Linked DNA regions of Homo sapiens: region 1 is linked to region 2. The links are contacts of gene promoters, found by promoter capture Hi-C in human tissues and cell types (Jung and others, 2019). All regions are on one chromosome and are shown on one strand. The core of a region is centred on a gene start or on the middle of the fragment in contact, and the rest is flanking DNA. Distances in the headings are between cores, read along the strand shown. Region 1 has its middle 31 kb from the start of GKN2. Region 2 holds the start of PLEK (pleckstrin).

The links. Contacts are between HindIII fragments. The study calls those that stand out against the background at their distance.
Region 1: a contact is called between a fragment that was not itself captured here and the fragment with the promoter of PLEK in region 2, in 1 of the 25 tissues and cell types used here (IMR-90 fibroblasts).

What each region holds. Positions count from the first base shown.
Region 1 is chr2:68,918,870-68,925,499 of GRCh38, reverse strand. It overlaps the pseudogene GKN3P. Among named protein-coding and RNA genes, the nearest start is that of GKN2, 31 kb to the left of the region's middle. The HindIII fragment of the contact is 7,656 bases long and covers 647-6,630 here.
Region 2 is chr2:68,360,967-68,368,417 of GRCh38, reverse strand. PLEK (pleckstrin) reads right to left here and starts at 3,136. Exons shown (of 9, transcript NM_002664.3): 1 at 3,025-3,136. The coding sequence starts at 3,066. It overlaps LOC101927723 (a long non-coding RNA gene), which reads left to right and starts at 2,014. Exons shown (of 2, transcript NR_187652.1): 1 at 2,014-3,003; 2 at 5,959-7,201. RefSeq lists enhancers at 3,097-3,176, 6,108-6,177. The HindIII fragment of the contact is 28,571 bases long and covers 1-7,451 here.

The sequences.
Region 1 (6,630 bases), core at 3,225-5,724, 560 kb before region 2:
CCACAAGGTGATGACATTACTCCAGAAAAATCTGCCTGTGCGTTCAGGTGACTTTTCCTGTCCGTTCCTTTCAACCTTTTAAACTTAATAATTCATTCGGTCTTCGATGCTTTCTCATCTCTAATGAAAATATAGAATGCTTTAAATTTTTTTGTTGCATTATATTATGTTTTTGCTTGTTAAATCAGATGGGATACTTTCAGCTTTTCTCTTTAAAAAATTGGTAAGTTACCTTATTTTTATGTGACCTGAAGTGTATCTTTTTCTCCCCCCTGAGAGTCAGCAACTCCTGCCATGAATATCAGTGTCGGCCAAATGTGCTGTGCAGGCTACTTAAGCAAATGACAGCAGATTTCAATGACTTGCCCAGGACCACTCGCTGGTTTTTAACTTACTGGACTACTTTTGTCATTTAAGAAGCTGAGGGGAAGAGAGCTTCAGCAGTCCTGGGCTTATTTTCAACTGAAGAGAATATGTGTGGATATGTTTAGGGGTTAGGTAGAGGAGAAAGAAGGTAGGGGAATGTGAATATTCTATTACTTCACTCTAATATTTACATTCAACAATTTATATTCACTAACATGTAGCTCAAACCCTTCTGGAATTCATCAAAATGAGATCACTGTATAGAACTTTTATTTGATTAAATTATGACTTGACTTGAATGAGCCATCAACAGCACCTGGAGTCCTTGGTATGATGGTGGAATTTCATGGGCATGAAGAACAAGCGTGACCCAAGTCTCTCTGTGTGCACAGCCTTGTCCTAGGAGGTTGGATGCAGAGGTGGAAAACACCAAACTAAAAGGAAACCACAGTGAACTGGCTTCACTTACCTGCTTGTCCAGGGCCTTGCTAATGTCATCCAAACTTGGGAAGACTGCCTTGTCCATCCTGGCCAGGACACAGGCCATCTTGTTAAATACCTTAGCCACCAAAAGGGCCTTAAAGCAACACAGCAGAAACACGTCATTCATGCAGTCACAATATTAATGGACACCCACTCTCTATCAGTGTGGCACAGCTGCTCTTCTGACTGATGTACAGCATCCAGCAGAGTGCCACTCTGGGCACCAAAAAAAGGCCAGCATCAGGACTGGTAACACGTTCAGAGCCCTGATGCTCCCGGGGCTTTTGGCACTGTCCCCTGATGTGGGTGAGGAAAGGAATCTCTCAGGGCATTCTGCACACAATGAATGGACAGGTGGGATGGGAGGGATAGGGGGTTGGATCTAATAATAAGGCTGATTGCAGGTCCTGTTCTGCCACTTAGCAACCATCATGGTCCTCAGTGGGCTCCACGATCCTCTGTTTTTTCATCTGAAAGCAGAAATAATAATAGCCCCTCTCCCACAGGGTTGCTGTGAAGATGAGAAGAGAAATTAACTGCTTGTGAGAGCTTGTGAGGGCACTGTGAAAATTATGGAGTGCTCTCTGAATGTACAAGGTTGTCAGGAACCTTGGGCCAGGCCCTCTAGACTCAGATTCTAGCCCTAGGTCTGCCACTGACCATCCCCCTCCATGAGTCCCTGGGCCTGTCTTCTGGCCTCTCACAGCCTGGAGTAGAGCAGCAGTTCTTCAGCTGTGTCTGACTGTGCCTAAGGTTCGCCTGCATCTCCCTCCTCCAGCCAGAGTAGTTCTGGCTTCTTCTGTTCCACGTCATAGACTACCGTGGAATATTTTTGTTTGAAGAAAAGTCTCCATGGCATAGAGCAGAGTTGAAAATCACTAGCCTGTGTAGACTGTGTGCCCTCTAGCAGGATTCAGGGGACATTTCCTTGAGGAAATCAGGAGTGGGTTAGGTGACTAGCGAGGAACATGGTCAGGGAAGGGAGCACAGAAGATACAGACTGGAGCAGAGAGAAAGCCTGTGCCTGAGGTGCCCATCCTGAAGTGTCCGGAGTGGCTGGAGGGAATGTCATGGATGTGGGTGGGAGTGGGGCCAGATGGAAGACGGTGGGGCCAGATGGGACAGGGCCTTGCAGGACAGAATAAGAAGTGTGGGCTTCTGCTTCACTTAACCCTTCAGAGTCCTGCCAGGTAGGAATGGTAGCTATTGATGCTATTTTGCAGAGGAGGAAACTGAGGCACACAGAGGCCGAGTGATGTCCCTGTGGTTATAGTGCTTTTCTATCAGACAGCCAGGCCAAGCACACAGGTGGAGCCTTCTCAATATTGTGTCTTTCTGCTAGGTCTTACCATTGAAAGTGATGGGCAAGTTGCAGTCAGATTTCTAAAAATGAAAATACAACATTCTTCTTCTTTGGAAATTAACATTAAAATCAGAAGTCAAGACAAAATAACTTCTACAGCACATACCAGTTACAAGACATGGGGGCTTCTGAGATCAGAGGCCTTCGGTGGCCGTGTGAAGTCAACACCTCACAGGAACATAGGGGATGTAGGATCCCTATAGACCAGCTGGAATTCCCCCTATATTTTTTGGCTCAAAAAGAAGTCACTGCAACTGCAGGGAAGCTGTTCCCTTACCTAATGATGTGCATGCCCATCAAGGACCTAAACCTAGAGAAGGCGAATGTCCTCTTTCTCTGGAAAAGCATAAGGCTACATTTTGGACCAGACGTGGCTTTCTTTCACATTGTAATGAATGTGTTTCTCATCTTATATTCTTGTAGTCCAGGATTCCGTCCTATTCACTGAAAATATTGTTGTCTCGGATGCTGACCATACCTTGGAAGGCACCAATATGGATAATTTGAGTCCCAAAAGATCCATACAAAGGATGGTTGAAACGGATGTTCTGGAGAAAACCAAGCAACAGTGAGAAAAGTTGAAAGTTCAGAGTTCCTACTTTGCCCATGCCTTGTAGGTTTTACGGGTACCCACAGGAAATTTGAGGAGGTTGCCCTTAATTATCACCTTTTAAAATGCTTCTGCTAAAGGAGGACTAGACAGGTTGAACTCTTTCCATCCTTACTCACCATCATGGCCAGGGATGGGGTTAGGACGAAGACCCCAAGGATGGAAGATGCAACCTGAAATGAAAACAAATATCAGGGCATTTTTGCCTTAGCTTCAGGTGAGCTCAGAGTCCAGAGCCCCAAGCCCTGCTGGGGCTGGAGCCTTCTTTTAATGATCTCTAACTCCCATCCTCTTTCATGGCATGGGGGACCCAGTGTATCAGGAGACTGTCACGCAGTATGGTTGATATGCTGGCTACTCAGGAGACAAAGCTTTATATAGTTCAGTCAAGGATACCTTTTGCTTCACTCTGCATGTATTGCTAATCACTGGGCTAAATATTAGGCAACCTGACCAACCACTTGATGCGCACATGGGGAAGGACCATCTCAGGCCAAATTGTAAAATAAGTGATGATAACTCAGGTTCTCAGTCTTGTTTTTCTGCACCTTCCTCTCTCTTTCCAAGCATTTGAGACTCCCTCTCTGCCCTCTCTGGAAACTGATATCCTCCTGATTTCCTTTCCTCTAGATTCTCCACTTTGCCTGAGAATAAAAGACCGTGAACCACTTATTTGCACTTTATTTTGAAATAGATTGTGCTAATTAAATGTGACTAATTATTGAAATATTTGCAGTTAATCATTTCTTCTCAGTGTGGCCTACTTGCTTGTTGAGGGAATTTTAAGCATCAGAGAGTAAGTCAGAGAGAATTGGTGGGAGCAGAAACAGGACAAGGTGAGAAAGTGCACAATGAATGTTTCCCCACATTCCATACCTCATTCTCATCTGGTCTACTGAAGGCTCAGGAACTCGCCTTCTCCCCCACCCCGCAATATCCCACATGCAACGAAAGCAAACAAAGGCAAGATACATATACAAAAGAAAAGAAAACAGCTACTCTATGAATAATCATCATGATGCTGTAAGGCTAATAGAGGAAATATATGAGCTGCAAATAGCAACACTATTTTATGAAACTATTAGGGTTGGTATATATTAAATATATTTGAAACTTTCCTTCACTGGAAATTTGTAAATAAGACAAGTCTAGGAAGAGAGGACCCTAAAATATGAATATCTATGTAACCCCCAAGGATTCTGGACCTTTAAGAACTTAGTTATTACTTCCTTTGGGAGAGACTCTTTGTTCAGATGTTCCAAAACAGAGAGGCTATGTTTTTTCAAATTAATATTTGAAAATTCTAAATTCCCCTTGAGTTTAATTTGAAGAGTCCATGGGGAAAAAAGAACTTCTCCCTGGCTATTTTGGCTCTGAGAACATAATCACCTACATTTGAAATTAGAAAATATACTTACAAGGTGTTTCATGGTGTCTCATACCCCACACAACAGCATGCATAGAAGAATTTTCTATGTCCCATTTATTTTCTAAATCTGTTTTATATAGTCCTATGCCTTTCAACTATTGCCATGATAAGGCGTTCTGGGTAGTTTCCTATGATCCGGATACCATTCAGGGAGGAAAAAACGCAAGTTTATGTAATCACAGTTATTGCTTTTCTTTAACTACATCTGAGTATTTCTCTTTACCCTGATACCAAGGTAAACATTGGTTCCAAGATAAACATGGCATATGAGCAAATCTTTGTGGGCTGGTATGCCCATGACCTTAGCAACTAAGGTGAACATTGCAAACATTGATCTCACAAAATGGTTCTGATATAAAAATCAATGAGCTCACTGTTTCTACTTCTCAATTCCCTAAAAGTGTTTTTACTAACAGTGTGAGTGATTGAGACAAACCTCATGAAACCAAAAGAGACAGGCTGAACTACACAATTAGACTGATTGAAAAGCAATCTGGTCCCGCTCTTCATCCAAACCAAAAATCATGTGGTTGTCCCTGCGCTGCCCTCTGTCTACCCACCAAGCTGACCTCATTTCACTTCTTCAAACATCCACCCTGGTGGACTTTCCTGATGTCCTGATATTTTGCTCCTGCTACATGGCTTGTTTCTCTCCTCTGACCTTTCATTTCAGGGCACGTTTTTCCATAAAGAATATTTTGACTAGCCCTGGAAGTCCTGAGACATAGGAAAATATTGCCTTTATATAATAAGTCAAGCATGAATTTAGGCCTTTTCATACATTATCTTTTTTTTTTTTCCTCAAGCTCTGACTAGCGGTGGCCCAGCTACCTGGATCAAATTCCAGAAGGCCAGAACCAAACAGACACTTCTTCTGAGAACATGTGCTCTGTATGGGCAAGCCTGGGCACTGGAATGACCCAAGGAGGAAAGACAGACAGCTCAGTCCTTACAGTGCCTAATAAAAATTGGCCACAGGAACATCAAGCAGTTGCATTTAGGGGGCTATAGGTCACCCAGGGCTCAGATAATATCATACTCATATCTCTATTGCTCTCAGTACTTCAAAAACACCATGCACAGACCACAAACTCAATAGTTATTGAATTATTAAAGAAGTTATTAAAGAAGTTGGAATCATCACAGTTCCTTGCCTGTACCTTACTTTGGCTATTTATATTTTTTGTTGTGTTATATCTATTTGTACAGTTGTCTGATCAGGACATTAAATTGGATATTTATGTCACTTAATTATCAACTTTGTGAGGTTAGAGACTTTGTTTTGTTCTCTGCTGTAGTTCTAGTGTCTAATATTTAAAATAGTACCTGACACAGAGTAGATTGTTTTGTTTTGTTTTTTGAGATGGAGTCTCACCCTGTTGCCCAGGCTGGAGTGCAATGGCGTGATCTCGGCTCACTGCAACCTCCGCCTCCCGGGTTCAAGCGATTCTCCTGCCTCAGCCTCCCGAGTAGCTGGGATTACAGGGTTGTGCCACCATGCCTGGCTAATTTTGTATTTTTAGCAGAGACAGGGTTTCACCATGTTGGCCAGGCTGGTCTTGAACTCCTGACCTCAGGTGATCCGCCCGCCTCAGCCTCCCAAAGTGCTGGGATTACAGGCGTGAGCCACTGTGCCTGGCCCATATACTTGTATTTTTCCCCTAATCTCTAAGCAAATAAAAAATATAAGTCAGTAACCCAATCACATCATTATGGCCCACATACAAACTCTCCTTCTCATATTGTTGCTTGGTTTGGTTGTTTTTCATTAGCTCTTTCCATTCAGTCAGATACACATGAGGACGCCTGGCCTTCTTCATGCATGTGCCACTTGTTTTCCATCTCTATATTCAATTATGATTATATTCATCTGTTTTCTATGGCTGTTTTCAACCTCCTCCCTCTTCTACCCTGCGGATCTTCTCCTCTCACCTTCTTCACCTCCTGCATTTTTATATACATCCAGGAACCCAGGACTCCTGCCTTCCAGGACACCAACTGCCCTGATCCCGCTGTGCTCCTGTTAGCTCTTCTCCTTCTGGCTCAGTTTCCCTGGATGTTTCTGTGCCTTTTCTTTTGTCCTTAATATTTTCTCTAAAGCAGGAACCTCTGAGTAGGCACAGTATGTTAGCACACGTTATCTTGCAGCATCTTGTATCTATCCTGAGCTACTTATTTTTTTCTCTATGTGCACCCAACCTCAATGGCTTGATCTACCCCACTTCTTTCTGAAGTTCATTCCAGGTAAATTGGCAGCTCGGGTTCCCAGTCCACCCCATCTTGTTAGGTAGTTGACATAGTCTTTTACAAAGCTGAATTCTCTTATTTCTAATTTTTTTATTCAATTGAAAACTCCAAACAGCCTGATCATTTTTTTCT
Region 2 (7,451 bases), core at 1,887-4,386:
ATGTTTCACTGTGGACGAATCACTTATTCTCTGTGAACCTCAGTTTTCTTATCTGTAAGATGAGGATCACATAGGGTGGTTAGGATTAAATGAAGTCATGTTCGTATAGCAGCTTGCTGCTCCATGGTTGGCTAGAAGTGCTCTTTTTTAAAACAAAAAAGTAAGGTGAAAGACTCTGAGGCAAAGAGACATGGGTGTTACTTGGAATGAAAAAGCTGGAAAATGACAGAATCTTGTATTTTCCCTCCCCCTCTTAACCACTGTCTTCATTTGGAGATCTTATTCAGGAGGCAAAAGAGGAAACCTGGATTGTGAAATGTCAACAGTCATCTTGCACAGAAGAAAAGCAGAAACGTTTTACAGTTAACACTATTGACCCCAAGATTTCTGACCTGACAAAATTCCTGCACCAGCATTTTCTAATGCTATATTTTTTCCACCCAAAACAACTTATCTGCAATAAAATTATTTCATAAAACAAGACACAGGACAAAGATGTTCTCTGTTACTACCCAGGTATCTTGAACTGCATAAGAGAAAAAGGTGAATGGAGGAAGATTCACTATATTATTTTTCATGCTTTAATATCAAAAACCATAGCCAAGGCTTCTAAGAGCCTTTTCAAAGATTTTTATGGCCCTTCCTTCATAATTAATTTGGCAACCAACCCAGGAACCAGTACATAGCCCCATTAACATCTAGGGGAGGCCCCACTATCTACTGAAGCATATATTGATGCTGATACAAATAATCAGTGTCTTATGCAGCTTATGTACACCAATTATATGTCAGATTCTTGACATATACAGTTTTTAACCCACACGTGAGGTAACTGAAGGAAACTTAATGTCTAAAGTAGTTAAGAACTTTAATACCTTCTCAGGAAACTCTGTCTTTAGGTTTAGTTCTGCAGCTGAAAAAGGGAATATTTCTGGACCAAACATTTCTTTAAAATATCAAATGAGACGCTGGAAGCTATGTGAGAGTGGAGGGTTGGAGAAGGGAGAGGATCAGAAAAAATAACTATTGGATACTAGGCATAGTACTTAGGTAACAAAATGATCTGTACAACAAACGCCTGTCACAGGAGTTTACCTATATAACAAGCCTGTACCTATACTCCTGAACCTAAAATTAAAGTTTTAGAAGAATAAAAAAAAAAAAGAGAATCTTAATGCATTATATCAGAGTGTTCAAAAGGTCCCAGAGAAAAATGCAGTAATTATGGAAGATGTAACTTGTAAACATGAAAATTATGGAAGATATAAATTGTAAAACTATCAATACAAAATTTCACTATTTAATTCCAGGCACATTTTCTAGATTGGCTTTTACAATCTGAGAGAACTACTCTCACTAATTAAAAACTATTTATTAATTTAAATCCACATGCTTGACAACCCTGACTCTATCATCCCCAATTTTTAGTGAGACAGCTTCACTTATTAGAAATTTAGTCTTCATATTTTTGTAATTTAGGGAGATTAAAATATGAGCATACAAACTTTATAACAGCAATTTTCATTGCAAGATGTTTTTAATTGTTTAAAAAAACAAACAAAAACTTGCAGAAATGTTCCTATTCACTTGCTCTTCTCAGGATACTAGCACAAGTGATCAGGAAAGGAATAAGTCAATATTAATTATTACCAGGTCTCGCCAATTATTATTGGTGCCTATTGCAAGTAATCTTTTACACTTCTATGTATAAGTGTGTCTTTTCCAAAGGATGTTTCGAAGCACAGCTGGCTACAGAGATTAGCAGCTGAGGGCCCACTTATTCTCCAGTACCAACTCATAGCTCTCACCATCACAAATACACTACAAATCCTAACTTGGAATAAATCTGCTTTAAGAAAATGCTGGAGTAATGAACAAAGTTCAGTGCCATGAATCAGAAACCTAAGCATCAGAGAAGGAGTGGCTGGTCACAACTGTCATAGCCATGTGACTTGGGGCAATCACCGAGCCTTCTGGGTCTGTCTCCTCTTCTGCAAATGAAGGAATTAGGCCAGATGACCTAGGGTCCCTCCAGCCTGAAGTCAAAATGGAAGCAGGCAGCAATGTGTGCTATTTAACCCCCCTTACAGGTAGAACATTGTAGGTTAAAACGTGAAACAAATGAGTAGCCTAAAACAGACTCACATTCACTGTTCATTCAACTAAAAAGCTAAGCACCTGAAGGAAGGCACTACGTTCAGCTCATTTCTGAAACAATCCACTCACTAAGGTTAGTGTGAGCATATCTGTGTATATAGGTGTTGCCCACAGGACACCAAGTCCTATGTGTGAATTCACATCCCGGGGAGCTTTCACAACCACACAGCACACACTCAGCATCCGAAGAAAGACAAACAGCACTAAGAAAATTCAATTTTCATGATGCACACCAGGGAGGCTAAGCCTTTTTCAGTACCCTAATCTTTAAAATGGTGCATCTACCACCTCGATGCCACATTATGCAAATTTACTAAGAATTGTGAGTGAAGAGATTTCAGCCCAATTAAAAAAAGATAAGGTTTTTTTTAAACGTGTCAATTCCAAGAAGATGGCCCAAGAAATAAGCCGTAATTACTCTATCATTATATCAACTCTTTAATCACTTTTTTCCCCTTGCCTCCCAAAAAAAGAACTGAGGGGAAGTGGAATTTAAATAAAAAATGAATAGTCCCTCCAAGAAACCTCCATAGAAGAGGAGTATATCTTCTGACAGAACACATCTGTGTGCCTCTTAAAAAGGATATTCTAAATCTGGAGGGAGTTAGCTTAGATCCCCACCTTCCAGGCCCTGCCATCTGGAATTCTCAGACCCGTAATATCAAACTGTAAGGAAGCCGGGGCTGGATGAGTATCCCCACTCCCCTAACCCCACTCCAACATTCTATGTGCTACCACGCTCCCCTATTTCAACCCAACTGGTTGAACAGGAAACATTCCTAAGATGAGCAGGTAGCCGGTGGAGCTGAACCCAAGTCTCCCCAGCCCATGTCCACTGACACCCTGGTAAGTGGCACCTTCGCTCACCTTCTTCACAAGGTAGCCCTCTCTGATCCGCTTTGGTTCCATGCTGGCTGGACAGGCAGATGCAAAGGTCACTCTCAGGCAACTCCTCTCAGCAGCTGGGCCTCCTCTGCATGCTGAGGTGGCTGTGGGCCGCCTTTTCTACAGCAGGTCGCTTTCACAATTTCCCTTCTGCTGGCGGTCGCATGATCACATCCTCTTCCCCTCACTGGGTTGGAAGATCAGAATAAGGAACTGCAGAGTAAACCACCCATTCCTTGCTAATGCTGGAGACTTATTAAAACCACAGTTGGGTTGAATATTTACCTAAGGGAAATTCTTACTACCATACAGAAAATCCCTCTTTTAAAGAGAAAAAGAAGTGATGAAAGGAAGAGGAAGATGAACAAGAAAAACTTGTTGGTGAAAATTGTCCTGAGTAAGGATTATTCTTGAGATCCTGGAAATGCCCAATAAAAATGCCAAGAAATTCAGAACCATCTGGTTAGCATAACAAAGTTAACTACTAAATGAATGCCTACTTCTCTCTATGCCAAGCCCTGTATCAAGTGTTTCTCAGCCTACTTATTTTAAACTAAATTAGTCTGCACATCGGCCAGGCATGGTAGCTCACGCCTGTACTCCCAGCACTTTGGGAGGCCAAGGCAGATGGATCACCTGGGGTCAGGAGTTCAAGACCAGCCTGGCCAACATGGTGAAACCTTGTCTCTACTAAAAATACAAAAATTAGCCGGGCATGGTGGCGTGTGCCTGTAGTCCCAGCTACTCGGGAGGCTGAGGCAGCAGAATCACTTGAACCTGGGAGGCGGAGGTTGCAGTGAGCCGAGATTGGTCCACTGCACTCCAGCCTGGGCGACAGAGAAAGACTTCATCTCAAAACAAACAACAACAAAAATGAGTCCACACATCAAACCCATAGGGAAAGTATATTATTTTCCTTATCTTAGAGTAAGGAAACTCAGGCTCAGAGAAGAAAAGTTGTCTCAAGTTGACGCTGCAGGTCACAGGGGAAAGCAGAAGAACCAGGGAGGGATGTGCTAGGGTGCCACTGCCTCACATCAGGCATGAGAACAGGTGTTCCACGTTGAGTGCTGATCTCACAGTCAGCCTGTAAAAAGAAGTCCATCATCAAACAGGTTTTTGAGAAACTTTACAAAATAATCCCAGGTTGGCAACTCCTCTAAATGATGAACAAATTAAAGACCTTCGCCCCGCCAAAGTACTACAGTAAAGAATCCTATAATGGTGTTTTCCAAACTTACTTCGCCATAGCATTCTTTTTTGAACAATTTATGTTAACTTTTTTTGTCATAAATTGAATTAGATCTCCCAAAAAAGAAGTCCTAACCCTTAGCACTTCAGAATGCATCCTTATTTGGAAATAGGGTCATTGTAGATATAATTAGTTAAGATGAGGTCATACTGAAACAAGTGGGCCCTTAATCCAATGTGACTGGTGTCCTTATAAGAAAAGGGCACACAGAAAACAGCCATGTGACAACAGAGTGATGCATTTACAAGCCAAGGAACGCCAAGGATGGCCAGCAACCCCCAGAAGCTGGAAGAGGCACGCAACAATTCTCTCCTAGAGTTGCTATAGAGAACATGGTGCTGACGACACCTTGATTTCAGACTTACGGCCTCCAGAACTGTAAGACAATAAATTTCCATTGTTTTAAGCCACCAGTTTGTGGTACTTTGTTATGGCAGCCCCAGGAAACCAATATAATCCTGAAAAACGAATATTCCATAGAATAAACTTAGAGACCCGTTAATCTGACCATGTGAAAATGAGCAAGTTTGTTATTACTTTGTGCCTCAGTTTTCTCATCTGTAATACGGGGATAATAACACCTATCCAATGAGGTCATTCTGAAGATTAAATGAGATAGACATGGAAGTATTTAGAAGAGTGTCTGAAACATAACTAGTATCCATAAATATTAGTTGTTCTTCATCTTCAAGGCAAATCTCCGTTATCCTAGAGCTGATCCTTTTCAATGATAAGTTCAACAGAGATGATGAAAGCAATCGTAGGACTAGATTTTCCTCATTACACCCGTCAGTGTTCTTTCACTGCAATCAACAGATAACAACTCTGGCTAATAGAGGCAAATAGGAATTTACTGGAAGAGAATGGAGTGGCCCACAGACTGCAGGAAAAATGAAGACTGGGGTCTTTGAAAGGACAGGAATCAGGGCAGTTGTGGGGTTCCAGGAAGCAAGACACCAAGATGAAAGAATGCCAGTGGTTTTCAGACTCTGCAGTAGTCTCCAGGGATCAGGCCTCTGATTGGCCTAACTTGGCCTAGTGCTTCTCTCTCCGGTATCTGAAGGGGGAACATGTGAACCGACAGCCCCAGCAGGACCATGCTCAATGGGAGAAGGGAGGTGTCCCCTAAAGTAAAATCAAGATGCTATTAACAATAGATGAGCGATGGCTCCGAGAAAGGCAAAACTGACAGACGTCCACGAGGGCATCTGAGGAGCCAGGAAAGTTAGGGGAAAGAAGAAGTTCTGTTCTTGGGGTTTTCTGAGAGCTTCCTGATTCCCTCTCCTCTTCCCTCCAGCTGTGTTTCTAGCTAACAGTCACTGCCCCTGTATTTCTCACTTTTCATTTTATGCTAATATCCATTACTTAAAATCGTTGATGGTTTCTTTTCAGTTTCTCATTGCACCAAAATTAATTAGAAATTGTTATAAAGTGTTGGGGGCTGAGAGTAGAGGGATCAACGTTTGATGTCACCTGAGCAAAACAGGAACAAATAAAAGGGTAATTTTCTGTATCTGCACTCAAACAAGTATTTTGCTATGTCTGTATAGTCAATGGAAACCACTCTTAGATTTACCAAGTCTGATTTCATAGTTAAATATATCTCCTTTTGTTTAACTGACCAAGTGACTTCTAATTTGGAATGTCTTCACTGTTTGTCCTAGCATGATCAGAAGGCTTTAAAGAACCCTCACTCAGAAACCTCATATTATTTTTGGATGCCTCCGGTGTAAAAGCACCCCCTGCGTTCCGAATAATTCATTTCAAGAAACATGGTATTAAGTGTTTAGTATGTACCAGGCGCCTGAATAGGTGCAGGGGTAAAAATGTCTTGACACCAAGGAACCTCCGGCATTTGTGAATCTGCTGAACATCGCCATTGATGGACTGGATGCTGCCGCCTTTGCCCCTCCCCCTCCTGCCACGTGTCATCGCGCCTACTTAGCGACACCTAGTGGTCAGTAAAGAGAACTATCTGAATCAATGACGCCTTTCAGGACTTCTCTCAACAGAGTTTGACCAAGTTTTCTTCTGCTGTGTCAGATCCCTCTCCCAGATCAGATCATTAGAACCTCCTCCAGTATCTTATGTATATGTGTCTAGAATGACTTTTTTTTGAGACAGAGTCTTGCTCTGTCGCCCAGGCTGGAGTGCAATGGCCTGATCTTGGCTCACTGCAACCTCCACCTCCCAGGTTCAAGTGATCCTCCCACCTCAGCCTCCCAAGTAGCTGGGATTACAGGGACACGCCACCACGCCCGGCTATTTTTGTATTTTTAGTAGAGACAAGGTTTCACCATGCTGGCCAGGCTGGTCTTGAACTCCTGACCTCCGGTGATCTGCCTGCCTTGGCCTCCCAAAGTTCTGGGATTACAGGTGTAAGCCACCGCACCCAGCCTAGAATGACTTTTTAACATCTCTTTCTGTACACATTTGATCAATAACCTTGGAAACATTATTCTTGTAGCACATTTTATTGCTGTAAGGGCAAGTTAAGACTTCTGAATAAGCAAAAATGATTACTGAGCATCTCCAATGGAAAACTATGCATTCTTTACAGCACACTTTTCTAAGTTATTTGTTTCTATGGAATCTGTGTTTTTTTCTTGTCTTGGAGTTATTCTAGAGCTCGGTAGATTGTGGATAAATACAAATAATTCTTGTCTATAAACATGCAAATAAATTCTGCCTGATGGAAGTTCAGTAGACTCCACCTTACCCCACACCCGCACTCCACCCCGCCTCCCATGGAAAAAGTCAATTTTGTGTCCATTGGTAAATGAATTTCAACGTTGCTTTACTCTATATAAATTGGTCTTTGACCTTGCCTTTGAACTGGTGGTGACCTCTGGCTAGTTTCCCCTTTAATTCATGAGTTAAATAAAATTTTGACATGTTTTCATTCTATTATATGTAAGAGTCATCGTTTTATCTTTTTCAAAGTTATTCTTTAGCATTGGTAATTCAAAAGAGACATTAAATTTAGCTGAGAAATATCAGACTACCTCTAGTGCTAAATATAAATTAAGTAAAAGGTGTCAAAACCTGTGAGAAGAGTCTGAGATGTTACCCTACTTGTAAGTTAACAGGTCAGCCTGCCTGTTTCAGGGATGCTCACAGAAGACTCAAGACTTCTGGAGTTTTGAGTGAGACAAAG